Regions from separate parts of the Homo sapiens genome. Here region 2 is linked to region 1. Evidence: promoter capture Hi-C in human tissues and cell types (Jung and others, 2019). All regions are on one chromosome and are shown on one strand. The core of a region is centred on a gene start or on the middle of the fragment in contact, and the rest is flanking DNA. Distances in the headings are between cores, read along the strand shown. Region 1 holds the start of FAM162B (family with sequence similarity 162 member B). Region 2 overlaps ROS1 (ROS proto-oncogene 1, receptor tyrosine kinase).

The links. Contacts are between HindIII fragments. The study calls those that stand out against the background at their distance.
Region 2: a fragment that was not itself captured here is called in contact with the fragment with the promoter of FAM162B in region 1 in 1 of the 25 tissues and cell types used here (lymphoblastoid cells).

Annotation. Positions count from the first base shown.
Region 1 is chr6:116,764,355-116,767,041 of GRCh38, forward strand. It overlaps FAM162B (family with sequence similarity 162 member B), which reads right to left and starts at 1,365. Exons shown (of 4, transcript NM_001085480.3): 1 at 1,051-1,365; 2 at 793-901. The coding sequence starts at 1,222. LOC105377963 (a long non-coding RNA gene) reads left to right here and starts at 2,014. Exons shown (of 3, transcript XR_942910.3): 1 at 2,014-2,185; 2 at 2,289-2,367. RefSeq lists an enhancer at 386-900. The HindIII fragment of the contact is 7,101 bases long and covers 1-2,687 here.
Region 2 is chr6:117,321,498-117,324,184 of GRCh38, forward strand. All of the region lies in intron 35 of ROS1 (ROS proto-oncogene 1, receptor tyrosine kinase), which reads right to left. Among named protein-coding and RNA genes, the nearest start is that of VGLL2, 57 kb to the left of the region's middle. The HindIII fragment of the contact is 3,366 bases long and covers 1-2,687 here.

The DNA of each region.
Region 1 (2,687 bases), core at 115-2,614:
GTCCCTCTCTTTTTTACCCAATCCCTTGTAAAAATGCTGCGAAGGTTTTTGGGCTTGGCAGAAACAGAAACTTTGGAAAGATTTTTTTACAGGTTACATTTACTTATTATTAGCATTTATTTTACAGGTTACATTACCTTAGAGGGGGAGTTATTAGTTTGAGTTTTATCATCTGTCTTGGTGGGTTTAGCATGCTGAAGAGGCCCACAGTGCTGACACTCCCGCGCGTCCCACCCTGAGTAAACCCGGAGCCTAGAGGGCTGCAGAAACACGTCCGCCAGGCGTCTCCTGCCCCAGAAGAGGAGGCCGCATGGATGCGTCTTTTTTCCAGAGACCCCCCCGCCACAGCCGCCCCGCAAGCCAAGATCAGAGAACCCCTTCCTTGGGTGGGGTAGGGGGACGCCCCCGGCCAAAGCCTGGATTGCGGTCTGGCGTCCCGGCAGCCATCCGGATGCTCGCGAGGACCGTGGCCTGTTTGGCACAAGAGCCCCACTGCCTCCCAGTTCGGAGCTTGCTGGGGACCGGCAATCTGGGCGGTGCTGGAAGTGTCCCCTGAACCTCTCAGTTTTCACCCACCTTCTGCAATCTCCCTGTAAGCTTAATTGACTCTTGACACACCGCACTGGAGGCGGGGTGTGTGTGTGGGTAAACTCCGTGTGTGGTGGGTGATATTGCGAAGTGTTGGCACTGCGGCCGCTTTCGCTCCTAGGTGGCCGCGGTCGGAAGGTGGGTCACCCCGCACCCTTGCGGCCGGGGACCGACTCTCCTTCGCGCGGCGGTCGCCACACTTACGGGATCCGAGGCGGGATCTCCTCCATCGATTTGAAACGCCCTGTCCACAGCAGGATTTTCTTGTCGAACTGCGAAGGCCTGCGCTGCGTGGGGACTCGGTGAATCTCCCCTGCAGCGAAAGCAACCCAGATGGACGCGGGAACTGACGCACCGGCACAGAGGATCAGCGCGCCCTCAAGCCGACTCCCGGGCCGGCCCCTCGCTGCCCTCCCGCAACCTCCTCCCTCCCAGGACCTCCCCGTCGGAGCCCTGGCTCACCGTGACCTTGGGGCCCAGAATTGCTGGGGGCCCCGCCGCTGGAGTAGCAGGGGAGACCCCGGGGCGGAAGAGCCGGTGCGGGCCGTCGCGTGGCCTCGAGAGGCGCCCCGGGGCCGCAGCGGACTGTTAGCCCGCGGCCAAGGCGCAGTAGGCTCCCGACCGCCCTGAGCATGCTGCCCGCTTGTCCCGCGCCGCACCCGCACCTCCGGACCCAGCCACAGGCGTTGTCCCCGCAGCTCTCCTCGTCCCGCCCCGGCCTGCCGCGCGCTGGAGAGCCTGGGACGTGCAGCTGGAACCCCTGGCGCTCGCACACTCAGCTCGCTATCCCCGTCTCCGCCCCCGGCCAGCGACCCGGGATCAGGGCGTCAAGCCCCGAGGGGCTGGTTCCTCAGGAAGCAGCCTGCCTCTGTTTGAAACAGGCTCACCACCGCCTGAGGCAGTGCGTGTAGCTCCTTTTAAATTCTTTGTATTGAGTAGAAATGTATTCCCGCCAGGCTTTTAGCCTTTGATTCCATCGTTTGTTCCCCAGGAGAATAAATCTAAATCCTCTCTTCCAGGAAGAGACAACAATCCTTCAAGTGCAGGAAACTGAAGACATTTCCCAATTAAGTGTTAAGGGCACTCCACTAACTTCTGGATGAGATTTCTTGAAGTTAGCTCCTCACCTCATCGTCTCCCACCCCCATACCTTTTCTCTTTCCTACGGAAAACAATCTCAATTCCTCCAAGTGCCTTTCTCTATCTTTTCTTCTTCTTTTCAGAGACAGTCTCTGGCTCTGTCACTCAGGCTAAAGTGCAGTGGCATGCTGATAGCTCATTGTAACGTCGAACTCCTGGACTCAAGTAGTCCTCCCACCTTAGCCTCCAGAGTAGCTAGGGCTTTGGTCGTGCGCCAGCACGCTCCGCTATTTTTTTTTTTTTTAAGAGATGGGATCTCACTATGTTGTCCAGACTGGTCTCCAACTCCTGGCCTCAAGCTATCAGCTGGGCTCTGCCTCCCAAAGCACTGGGATTACACGTATGAGCCGCCATGCCAGCTTCCTACCTCTTCATCTCTTAGCCCACAAACTCTCCACACTCCCTTCAAAATGTGCCTTTCTTCTGTCACCTTCCACCATCTCCTCTATGCTAAAAGGTAAAAGAATCTACTATTTTCAGGCATTAAATGGTAACAGGGATTCAGATTCAATGATTGGAGAGAAGGGTTGTACAAGCAATTTACTTATCTTGTTCCACAGACAACAGACCTCCTGCCAAGTCAAAGTGCTCATCAGCCCAGCACCAGGCCGAGCTCACCCTCCTCTGCTATTACTGCCTGTGAGTTTCCCTCCTTATCTAGACACTGCTTTGCACTTGTTGGATTTCTAGATATTTTGCTTCCTAACTAGACTGTCAGGCTCTTGAAAGCTATAACTTTTCTGTAACTGCCAGCTCAGTTTTTTTTTCTTTTTACATAACCGTGTTAAACAAAAAAAGAGGGGTTAATAGCTCTGTGAAGACATACATTTAGAGGAGCGCTTGCAGAAGGAACATGGGCTTTGCCTTCACACCTAGGTTTAAATCCCGGATTTGTGACTTAAAAGTTGCACAATCATGAGCAGTAAATCATTTAAGTTATAAGTCTTGGTCTCTTTTGT
Region 2 (2,687 bases), core at 105-2,604, 560 kb after region 1:
ATCAGTAGAATAGTTATAGAAGTTTTCATAATTTGATTTTAAAATATCTTATAAAAAACTAATTAAATCCAGGTAAAAAGCCATATATAAGTACACAAATCATACTACACCATTTTTAATCTCACTTCTTAAAATTTAATGTATTTCTTACTGTTGTTATAAACAAATTAAAGTATCTTAATATTAAAACTTATTTGTCAAAATCACCCATAAACGAGTCAAAATAAACCAAAACAAACATAATTATTAGTGAAACAAATTCATTTTTGAGTTCAGTCACATCCAGGTTATATTCCTCAGTAGAAAAGAAAATGCTTTCAGTATAATGGCAATTTTTTTTTTTTTTTTTTTTGCAGAGTACAAGAGTGTTTATCATTGTTGTTCATATACACATACTCGAATATGTAGAAAAAGTATTGGAACGAAGCTTACCAAATGTTAGCAGTGGTCTGCCCTAGTTGTAGAATCATGAGTAATTTGTACTGTCTTCCTTATATAATAAGCAGTATTAGTTTTATAATAATAAAATTTTTTTAATATTAAAATACAATTATGTCAATAGGATTGTCATCTGTACTGGACTATTGGCTCAGAAGTTGAAAGCAGCAAGCATGCTTTGAGAGATGATCATTAAAATTTGAACTTAATTTCACAGTAGCTTCTATGTTCAAGAAGTTAGAGTTTTATTCACATGAAATTCAATTTGAAGGGCTACACAGTGAAAGATCACAAGTACCTTTTGCTAAATTAATTTTTCCAACTTGAAATGTTCTCACCACCTCGCTTCACTTTTAAAGGCCCAATGTAAGCCCACATCCTCAATGATGCCTTCTGAAACCTCAGCAACCTCTACTAATCTTTCATATCTGAACTTGAAAGACTAATTGCGCCTCTCTGTGAGTGCTTATCCTATGCACTGTCTTACTTATTTCATCTATTTTTGTCTTTTGTTATTATTTAACACATATCTTGCTATTTGTCTTCCCACACAGGCATGTCTTAACTCCCTCATTAAATGGCAAGCTCCTGAGGTCAGCAGTTGTATTTTACAGGTTTACATTTTCCCCTACTCCCAGCAGAAGGCTAATGTTATGCATTAGATATGACTGCTCAGAAGCAAAGGCTGTCAACACTCATTTTAAAAATTGTCTAATTTTATGTTTATAACTGATGAGTGCCCTCAGCACAATACAAATTTTAAAATAATTGTGACTGTTTTGTTATTTTAATTACTCAATCTTTTCTCATGCACACACACGCTCTTACTAGTAAAACCACATGCACTGCTGCTAAAAGCAAAGAACCGAATTAGCTTAGCTAGACTCAAAAATTCGTGAATTTCAAACAGAATAAAGACCTTTAAGTCCTGAGAAAGTCAGATATCCATAGGATGTCTTGGAAGCACAATAGGTTGTCTGAAATTATCTCATGTTCATCCACTAGAGTTATGGGTTTAAACAATGGTGATGTACAAGAAAGCAAGCAAAGGTCAGCTGAAGGATTCTTCATGTAATTCTCCTTCCCAGTAGGAAAGCAGACAAGCAGTCAAGCCTATATGCCAACTGCCAAATATACTGCAGTCATATGCGTAAGTCTGGAGGGGCTGGCTTAGTGGCACAAACATCAGCTGTGCAATACTTAGACTCTCTGGAACCACAGGTTAAAATCCTGGCAGGGTCAGCTGAAATTTTTAGCTTTCCAAGTTTGCTGAAGGAGTTTCACATATTGTCTGGGTGGAATCTTTGAAAAAAATCTCAAATCGAGCTTCAAAGTGCTCTCATAAAGATTGTGACTCCAATCACTTTGCAGAAAGAATAAAGACTTAGAACACAGTAAAGTGTTGGCTGTCTTTATCCTGAGAGTTCAACTTTATGTTTGTGACTTTTCCATCAACTTTCCCTTGTAACTTACCCCTACTTGTGAACAAAACAAGCCACAACTTTCTTAATATGTGTTTGAGTGTTCTTTTCTGGTAAGAATCATGCCCTTCTTTTAATGATTCAGTGTGTTGGGGACTCTCAATATTAGCAATAGATAGGGGTCCATATATCTTATAAGCAAACTCGGACAGTTTGGGGAATGAAAGAAAGTGCTATTATTATTTGTGCTGAAACAGAAATAAACAAGAATGTATGATCACTGTGATAACTCTAAAAGTCCAATCAGTACTTGACCATTCCCTTTGAGGTTTTTACTGCATTTTATTATCATTAAAGTAAATCTTCTTAGAAAAAAAATAGCTTTCTATCTACCTAACCTAATTTTTCTGCCTTCCTGGTCATTTATAAATGAGCAGGGATTTGAAATAAGCAGATCAGATGTCTGAAAGCAAGAGTCGATCCCACAAGCCAGAAATGGATCTTCTGCAAAAGAGGCCCTACTCATTCCAAACCAGCCTGTCTGCTTAGAAACCAAAACTATCCCAATCAAAGATTGTCACTGGCCTCCCATTAATTCTATACTTTTTTCTGTACCCAGGGTTATTTTTCTTTTATTTATTTTAAACCATAAGCCACAAAACATTTGTATGCAGCCAATCAGAAATAAATACTGTTTTAAAGAAACCTAAAAGTTGGTGCCCTTGCAAGTAGTTTTATCTAAAGTATAACATGAAATGTACATGTATATTTTCCATAAAATAGTTATGCCTAGATCAGAAAACAATTCACAGAAGTTAGTGGTTATAA